Regions from separate parts of the Homo sapiens genome. Here all the other regions are linked to region 2. Evidence: promoter capture Hi-C in human tissues and cell types (Jung and others, 2019). All regions are on one chromosome and are shown on one strand. The core of a region is centred on a gene start or on the middle of the fragment in contact, and the rest is flanking DNA. Distances in the headings are between cores, read along the strand shown.

The links. Contacts are between HindIII fragments. The study calls those that stand out against the background at their distance.
Region 1: a fragment that was not itself captured here is called in contact with the fragment with the promoter of SLC22A1 in region 2 in 1 of the 25 tissues and cell types used here (liver).
Region 3: a fragment that was not itself captured here is called in contact with the fragment with the promoter of SLC22A1 in region 2 in 1 of the 25 tissues and cell types used here (liver).

What each region holds. Positions count from the first base shown.
Region 1 is chr6:160,252,131-160,255,290 of GRCh38, reverse strand. All of the region lies in intron 2 of SLC22A2 (solute carrier family 22 member 2), which reads left to right. Among named protein-coding and RNA genes, the nearest start is that of SLC22A2, 5.1 kb to the left of the region's middle. The HindIII fragment of the contact is 3,650 bases long and covers 1-3,160 here.
Region 2 is chr6:160,120,050-160,123,206 of GRCh38, reverse strand. It overlaps SLC22A1 (solute carrier family 22 member 1), which reads right to left and starts at 1,392. Exons shown (of 11, transcript NM_003057.3): 1 at 861-1,392. The coding sequence starts at 1,271. It overlaps LOC124901452 (a long non-coding RNA gene), which reads left to right and starts at 1,512. Exons shown (of 2, transcript XR_007059842.1): 1 at 1,512-2,365. The HindIII fragment of the contact is 5,449 bases long and covers 1-3,134 here.
Region 3 is chr6:160,269,670-160,272,988 of GRCh38, reverse strand. LOC105378088 (a long non-coding RNA gene) reads right to left here and starts at 410. Exons shown (of 2, transcript XR_001744437.2): 1 at 276-410. The HindIII fragment of the contact is 6,937 bases long and covers 1-3,319 here.

The sequences.
Region 1 (3,160 bases), core at 349-2,848, 130 kb before region 2:
AGAGGGATAAAAGTGGAGGCACAGGCCACGTGCACCTCATCCATCACCCATGGTTATTAATTGTCTCCTCAGCTGCCCTGACAAGGCTCTTCCTGGGGCTTTCTGCGGGAGGCTTGCAAGGTGAAAGGGAAGGTTTTTATTTTTATTGCTGCAGAATTGAGGATGATTCTTTAAAGATGACGCATTAAATCAGGAGAGACACATTAACAAGGGGAGGTCCGGAGTCCACCTTGCACCCCTGGGCAGCTCTGGCCCTGCAGGCATTCACTCTCTCTGCACTCCCTCCTCCGCCACCAGGTAGAGGTGCTAACACTCACTCCCTGACAGGCTGTGAGTAAACAGGTGACTCAATCTTTAACCCTTGCTCAGTGGGTTAAGAAATTAGTTAATTATTCACATCCCACTCAACAAGTAGGAGATTGGTCATAAATCCCTACTGACAGTGCATTCCTGTGTTATAAGCCCTGGTCAATTATCCACCTTCTTAGATGATCTCATTATTTTGTTCCTATTGTTGAAATCCCCTCTGTCAAGGTAAGTACTCATTATTCTTCCCCCAAAGGCTGTCTCCATGCCTCGACTTCTTTTTCTTACACCATCTGAAGCTTGGCCGGTCATTGCCCTTCTTCTGTTCTGTGCCTGCATGCAGGAGTGAGAAGCCTAGCCTAAAGAAATGAGAAAGCAATTTGTTTTTTGTATAGTTAATGCCTACAATTTCCAGATTTTATACAATAGGACAAGAATGTCATGGATCCCCATTGTATTCACAGATTAAGCCAACTTTAAATAAAACACATTGTCTTCCATGAATAATTTTTTAAAAAAACAGTAAGGCATTATGAAAAGATTGTAAATAAGACTAAGAGTGGACCCAAGTATAACCCATAACTTCCTCATCAATGATTTTGAGTGTCACCTGAGACAAAAAAGCAATTCCTCACCAATCCCAGGGTTTTTTTAATTTTAACAAGCAGCAATTATAAGTACTATATTTTTTATTTTTTTTATTTTTTGAGACAGAGTCTCACTCTATCGCCCAGGCTAGAGTGCAGTGGTGCAATCTTGGCTCACTGCAGCCTCTGCCTCCTGGGTTCAAGCAATTCTCCTGCCTCAGCCTCCTGAGTAGCTGGGATTACAGGCGCCTACCACCATGCCCAGCTAATTTTTGTATTTTTAGTAGAGACAGGGTTTCACCATGTTGGCCAGGTTGATCTCGAACTACTGACCTTAGGTGATCTGCCCTCCTTGACCTCCCAAAGTGCTGGGATTATAGGCATGAGCCACTGCATGTGGCCATAAGTGCTATATTTACTGTGTCATGCTTGTGAATGCTTAACAACTAGTTCTCTGGGAGGGAAAGCCCCAGTTTGTAGTGTTTATTGATTGCTCTGGTGTAAATATACCCACTGTGGTTCACTTCAGCCTACAAAAATGACATCACAGGACATAGAGTTGGCTAGAAGTGTGCACCATTACACAGCATTTCCACCATGCAGATACAGTAGATGTAAATAACCTCACAAGCACAGATGGCCAAATATAGTAAAATCATTGGAAAGTGATGTTTTGCATATTACACTTGCTTTCAATATAATTTAGTTGTAAATGTATATAATTTAATTTTTAATAATGGTTATGCTAACAATTAGCTTGCAAATTTTCTGTAAGTCTGATCATTAGCTCTTAAGAGCCAGCACCCTACTTTTATGTGTTGTGATGGAACTAGATCAAAGTGAGCTAGGAGGAGGGACTTGACTCTGGAGGCGGGGCTTGGACACCAGACCAAACTGAGGACTAGCTAAAACAGGTCCCAGGCAGGAGCAGCTTTCCATAAGACATGACCACCAGTGCACCATGTCGGTTTACTATTGCCATGGCAACATGGCAATCTCCAGCCCCTTTTAATGGCAATGACTCTACAACCCAGAAGTTACCACCCTTTTCCTAGAAATTTCTGCATAAGCCACCCCTTAATTTGCATATAATTAAACGTGGGTTGCATATAATCAAATTTATAATTTAAATTAATTTGCATATAATTAAAAATAAATATGAGTACAGAACAGACTCCTCTGAGCTGCTATTCCAGGCACACTGCCTATGGAATATCCCTGCTCCACAAGGAACAGAGGTGCTGCTGCTATACATTGCAGCTTCAATAAAAATGGCTATTTAACAACACCAGCTTGCCCTTGAATTCTTTCCTGGGCAAAGCCAAGAACCCTCCCAGGCTAAGCCCCAATTTTGGTGCTTGCCTGTCCTGCATCAAAAGCAGAACTAAAGTCCCAGTGGGTTGCAGTCATACTTACCCAACTATATGGGATCTTCCAAAACACGTTCACCACTGATTACTGTGTGCTAGTCACTTTACTGGGCATCCTCATTTGTTATATTTCATTTAGGATCACGAGAGCCTTTTAAAGTAGATTTCATTATCCATAATTTACAATGGATGAAGAAACCGAGGCTCTGTGAAATTAAAGCACTGCTTCCCAAATGCTAAGTTGCATATAAATCTCCTGGGGATCTTGCTAAAATTCAGATTCTGATCCAGCAGATCTGGGTGGGCCCAAAATTCTGTATTTCTAACCAGCTCCCAGGTGATGCTGTTCCCAAGCCCATGCTAATAGTCCTCAGCCACATTCTGAGTCACAAGTAGCTAAAAGACTTACCAAGCCAGCAGTATGGGGAGTCCACCCTTCCTGTCCTGTTTCTTCTGATTGTTTTCCATTTAACCATTTAAATAGCCCTGCTGAGGGGTAGGAGGAGTCTCAGACCTCTATCCCAGATTCCCCAAATTTATTCTAGCCATGCCTTATTATTCTTTTAAGTAGCATTGCTTCCCTATGTGGAACATGTCTCCAGTGAAGTTTTTCCACATCATGGATTTGATTTTCTTGCTCTGAGTTTCAGATGATGAATATTCCCTCTCATCACCTAAAAGATTTTGTCCATCTACATGGGGCACTACTGTGGTGTTCTACTGTGTGCCTGAAGCAGTTTTGAAAGTTGAAGAAGTACCATTTGAGTCAATGTTTATAGATTATATACTCTTTGAGGGTAAAGGAAGGGGTTTGGGTAGGAAAATGTGGGAAGAAATGCTAAAAAATTAAGTTGAGATATGACTTTGGAAGGCTTTGAATTAGAGGCCAAGAGGTTG
Region 2 (3,157 bases), core at 143-2,642:
GTTACTAACAGAAGGCCCCTGACGGGCTTTGGCCCACAGCTTCTCCAACCCACCAAGCATCCACACTTGTTACCGTGCAATAGTTTCAAAAGGGCTCATGATGGGAAAAAAATGTGGTGACACTTTTTACTAAAGGATTCTCAAAGCAAAATGCTCAAATAACCAAGTAAACTACTCAAGCAAGGCCCTTTTGAGGCCATCGCCCTATCCCATGGGCCCCATCGGACTGCACGGTGTGACTCAGTTTGGATTTGCTCAGTGCTTTCACAGATCCCAGCTGAAGCTCACACCCCTATGAGGCAGCCGTCATCATCCCTGGTTGACTGATGAGGAAATGAGGCTTAGAGAGGCAGTGACTTACCCAGTGATGCTCAGCTAATAAGGGGCACAGCTGGGATTCCACCAAATATTCTCACTTCCAAGCCAGGGCAATTCCAGGCCACCTCAACACCATCATTGAGGTCAATCGTCATCACTCTTGAGCAGAAGGAGGGGGCCCACAGTACTATTGGTGGGGAAGCGGGACCCAGAGCAAGTTGATAGTTCTGGGAGAAGCCAGTGGGGCAGGCAGAGAGGCTCCTGGTCTCCCAGTCAACTCCCATTCAAGCAACCTGGCAACCTGGCCCCCGACTTGTGCTAGCTGTTCTCTCCTGCCTCAGCTTCCTCCTCAAAGACCCAGAGTTTGTGGTGGATTAAACTAGAGAAGAGAATGCCCCGTGCCTGGGACACAGCCAGACACCCACGAACTGCACAATAAACATAGCCCCCTACCTCTTTCCTGATATGGAACTGAACTTCATAGGATTTGCTTTATATTTCTCCCTGTCCCAGGAACTCCCATGTTACAGAGGCTTTTTTACCTCAGTGACGATGGAAGAGCCGGGCGTGTCATACACCCAGCCATCCTGGCAGGGACCCAGCGGCAGGTGGCTCCTGTTGGTGGCCAGGCTAGCCAGGGGGTCTACACAGCTGAGGGCGCTCTGGTTCCAGTCCACTTCATAGCGCCTGCACTGGCCAAGGAAGGCCTCGCCCGCGGGCCCCAGGCCTGGCACTGTATAGTTCAGCTCCTCCGCAGGGCTCCAGCCACAGCGCTGGCTCAGCTCAGCCACCCCAGGACTCTGGCAGTGGTGGTCAGGTGTGAAACCCAGGAAGACGATGCCCACACAGATGGGCGCAAAGGCAGCCGACAGCAGGCATAAGATGAGGAAGGCTTGCTTCTGGAACCAGCCAGACTCCCCAACCTGCTCCAGAATGTCATCCACGGTGGGCATGATGGCTCAGCATGCTCATGGCCGTGGCCAGACCTGCTCTGGGCTGCAGTGGCCAGGTGCAATGTCTCCCTCAGAGATCTTTGAAAAGGAGTGGTTTGAAATCAGTTTGCTGTCCAAGTGTGAAACATCTGGAAGGCAACCAAGTAGAAATAATCTTTTACCCTATGGTGCTGGTTTCAGGAAAAGGAAGAATGCACGTGGCCATCTGATCAAATCGTTTGCTTTGCCCGGGAGCGAGTCAGTGGGGTCTAAGCCCGAAGAGAATTGAAGTTCAGCCACAGAGCAAGAAGAGGGCAGGAGAGCAGGCCGTGCAAACCTCCTAGTAGCTCCCTCAGGGCTCTTCCAAAAAGAATATCTACTTGTTTTCTAGATGTGATGGTATGAGGCAAGTATTGGGTGACAGCCAGGTACTAGATACTGTATTCGGCTAATTAGTTCTGTGATACCATTTAAGTATTTTTTTTAGTTTTTTTTTCCCATAGGTTTTGAGGGAACAGGTATTATTTGGTTACATGAGCAGGTTCTTTAGTGGTGATTTGTGAGATTTTGGTGCATCCATCTCCCAAGCAGTATACACTGCACCCAATTTGGGTGTTTTAAGCTCCACCTCTTCATTTGTGTGTGTGTATACATGTCTAGATGTGTTTACTTGTATGTACACTTACTGTTATATGTTGTGTCTACCAAATTGGCTTATAAGTAAAAGAGTGTTCATAAATTAAGTAAATAAGTCTAAGCAATTTTCAAATTCACTTAAGTATGACTTTGCTAAATAGGCTGTCTTTTAAATTATCAGTAAAATGAAAATAGAAATGTCTTCAAAATATAGACATGGTCTAAATTATGCAAGTCAGAAACTAGGTTGACTAAATGCTTTAAGGTCATAAACTGCTTTGGCTTTTGAAAATTGTTCAACTTTCCTGCTTTGCAGTTTGGTAGGGCCTGCCCTAGCTATGCTGGAAATAGTTAGACCTCATCTGCACCTAAGTACGTAACTAAAATAACTTACTGGGTATTTCACCAAAATTAACAATTACTAAGAGCTACCATTATAACATGTAGTGATGACTACTGAAAACAGATCTACACGTGAGGTGAGTAAGGAGAGTAAAATGTATCATTAGTAAAATAATATAAGAAGGCATGGGAATGTAAATTTTTGCCTAGTTCAGAGGGTTAAATGATTGTTTTAAATTATATAAGATAAAGCTTAAGGTTCAAACAAGTTATGGAAGGTTTGTAAAAAATTAATCTTGTAAAAGGAATCCTGTGTGTAAACATATTGACTACACTAAAAAGGATATTATTTGGTTTTCCATAAGTTGAACAATGGAATACAAGCACAACAAGGTTTTCTTGAAGCACTTACATGCTGTTTAACAAAAAAAATTTGTAAAAGGTTATAAAAGATTTATAACAATCTCAGTTCATGATCAAACTGATTAAGATTGGATGGATTTCTCTGTAAGGTTTTATTTTTTTTAATTGGGGTTGACATTAATAGACTAATGTAAGGGTAAAATTTGGCTTTCACTTGAACAAGATTTTCATGCAATGAAAGATTTTGTTTTCTTTGTGAATAAGCTACTGACACAAGAAGGGAAGGACAAGAGATCAACAGGACTCCAGGGTCAATAGGGCTCCATAGCTGAGGGGAAGGGAGCTCAGCAGCCTGACATGCTGGCGAAAGGGTAAAAGTTCTTACCAGTCAGACTTTTGGTTTCTCTCTCTGTGCAAACTGGTTGCAGGAACAATAAAAAAATCACTATATTCTCTGCCCCTCCATGAATTCAACTGGCCATTTGGCATGGCTAAAGTTGGATAATAAGAGACTTAAAAGGACTTCTTAAAAAGGAGTGCGATGGTTAAAAGTTAGATTGTTTGGA
Region 3 (3,319 bases), core at 658-3,157, 150 kb before region 2:
AAAATAAAATGCCACAGACAAGTTAGACTGTAAGCCAAACGCAACAGAAGGGAAAACTAGTGAGCCGAAACTACATCTGAGAACACAAAATAGACTTTGACCCAGAGAACTAAAGAGATAGAAAATATAGACAAAAAGTGAAAAGAAATGGAGAAAAGAATGAAAAGCTCCAACTTATTTATGGAAAGATTCCAGTTGAGAGAAAGTTGAGAGAATGGAGCAGAAACAATATTTGAAGGGAAAATAGGTAAAGAATTTTCCATAAGAAGGCTTACCAGACTTCTCTCTTACATTGATGGAGCTGTGTTTCTCTAATTAACCAGGTAGGTTTCATTGCTGACTGCATTACTATGATCTCAGAGACCTAACATCTAGGAGAGTCTAGGGGAGAGCTGCTTCCATGTGATTCTGCTCTGAGCTCTGTACTTTTTCTGATGAGACCGGAAGGCCACACCCCCAAGCATGGTATCATAGGCTATCATTCTTTGGGACTGCTTCCACTATCACAGTGTTAGATCTCTAGATGGAACTCTCCTCCCCATCTAATGCTGGTTTGGTTTCTTTGTATTGAGTAACTAAAGCTTATTGGTCACTTACCAGATGACTAGCTTGGGAGAGACTGAATATACACATGGACAATGGCCAGACCACGTAAAAAGTTAGAACTCTACAATCAACCCCAACTGGAGAGAGTGAACTAAGTGCCCTAACCAACTACAGAGGATGGATACACCACCTCTGGATAGCCCACTTCGTTCCAGCTTCCCCGGCCAGCAGCCTCCAGTCAGCACACACCTGACACCTTCCCTTTTCTGCTATGAAGCTTCCCCACTCCTCTGCCTGCCTATGAATCTCTGCCAGAACACACATGATGGCAGTCACAGAGCAAGTTATAGCCCATCTGGGACAAAGTACAGATTCTTTTCTGGGTCAGGACTTGCTCCATTATACAGCAAGATGCTTACAGAACCCCTTTCAGCCCCAAAGCTGCCTACGGACTTTTATATCCCTAATTTAGGGACTAGAGAATCATTTGTATAACTTTAAAATCCAGTGGAATTTGGCTTTATTGTCCCCAATTTATAATGAGTTACTATTCCTATACCTCATTTGATTTTTTTGTCAAATAGCCTTCCATACTATGTAAATAAGTATGACAAGGTTCCCACTATGGGCACCAAATTATTTTAGGGCTTTCAAAAATGTCAGCACATCCTATCTTTTTATTTTTCTTATTCTCAAGCTTTTTGTGATTCCATTCAACATTTCCTACTAAGACATGCCACTACTCCTGAAAATTATGGTGGTTTTGTAATTCACAAAATCGCTTCAAAAGAGTATGGAGTGTGTATGTATGTGGGAATGGCCCTCACTCCACACTGCATTGGAAGGTCTTTCCTTAAAACAGAATTCAAACTTCTCATCAGGATAGGTTTGGGAAAAAGGGAAGAAGGTGGATGGGAGTGAGGTGAACAATGATGAATGAGGAAGGCTGAGGCCAGCAGAGCGGGGCAGAGCGGGGCAGAGCAGGCCTGCGCACTGCTGGAAGACCAAAGTCAGAGCAAGGCCCAGGAAATCTCTGATGCATACGTCATCCGCATCAGTCTAGGACCAATCCGTCACCACGCTTGTTTATCCCTCATCTCTCCCTTCCCGTTCCTTAATGAGGGGAGAGGCAACAAAAGGAAGGAGGGGAGCGATCCAAGGAGCGGGTGTTTGGTTGGGCTCTGTCTTAATCCGTTTGAGCTGCTGTAACAAAATACCTTAAACTGACCAATTCATAAACAACAGAAATGTATTGCTCGCAGTTCAGAAGGCTCAAAAGTCCAAGGTCAAGATGCCAGCAGATTAAGGGTCTTGTGAGGTTTCATAGATGGTGTCCTGTTGCTGCCTTCTCACATGGCAGCAAGGGCGAGGAAGCTCACTCAAGTCTCTTTATAAGGGCGCTAATCCCATTCACGAGGGTGGGGTCCTTGTGACTTAATCACTTCCCAGAGGCCCCACCTCTTAATACTATCACATTGGGCATCAGTTTCCAACATATGAATTTGGCAAGGGACACCAAAATTCAGACTATAGCATGCTTTGTCCCTAGGAATACAGGAGTGAGACTATGAGGGCCTGGAGATTTCAGTGAGAAGCCGATCAGCAAAGATGCTCCCCACCTTGCCGTGAAGCACATCACAGAATTACTACTAGATTCTGGAACCCCCTGCCATAGTTGTGTTGGCTTCTAGGGCTGTGGTGACAAAGGACCGCAAACTGGGTGGCTGAAACCAACAGAAATTTATTCTCCCATGGTTCTAGAGGCCAGAAGTCTGGTACCAAGGTGTCAGCAGGGCCATGCCGCCTCTGAAATCTGTAAGGGAGAACGCTTCCTTGACTCTCCCAGCTCCTGGGGTGGACGTGGATCCCTGGTGTTCCCTAGCTCACAGCTGCAGCGCTCCAGCCTCTGCCTGCATCTCCACAGCCATGTGCATATGTCTCTTCTCTTCTTGTAAGGACACCAGGCACATCGGACCAGTGGCCCACCTACCCCAGCAGGACCTCAAGTAATTACATCTGTAACAGCCCTGTCTCCAAACAGGGTCACCTCTGAAGTGCTGGGGGTTAGGACTTCAACATATATTTTGGGGGAACCCAACAGTAACCTTCTGTCCTTTTTTTCCATGGTGATTGTGCTTAAAAGCCTTAAAAAGAAAATCCTGTGTAGAAGGAAGGACCCAGGGAGATGAAGTCCTTTGTGTCCATCAGGCTTGAAAGAAGAGAATCCTAGGTTCTCCCAGAAGAGGCTCTGTTACGTGGCAGGAAAACACAAGCAAACTGATTTCCCCTCCTATGCTCTCAGCACAGCACAGAACACTTCTGTGACCAGATGTCCGGGTTTTTCCCCACACATCAATTCTGACAGTATCTACTGGGAGTTGCCATCCACAAGTTAAGGGCCCAGTCCCACAAAACTGCCTGTATGATGCCAATTGCAAGGCTGGACCTCCAGAACTTCCAATGAATCAGCTATAAATCAGGAGTTCCCATGACTTCCGCCTCAGGTTTGATTCATTTGCTAAAGCATCTCATGGAACTCCGGGGAACAGTTTACTTACATTTACCAGTTTACTACTAATATCAAGGATATTGTAAAGGATACAGATGAGCACCAGATGGAGAGATGCACAGGGTAGAGCATGAGGATGGGGCACAGAGGGAACCTTCCCTCCCTCCAGGCACTCCCCCATGTCCAACAACCCAGAAGCTCTCCACACCCTGCAGTTCAGGGATTTTTATGGCAGCTTCATCACATACGTGTCATTGATTATTA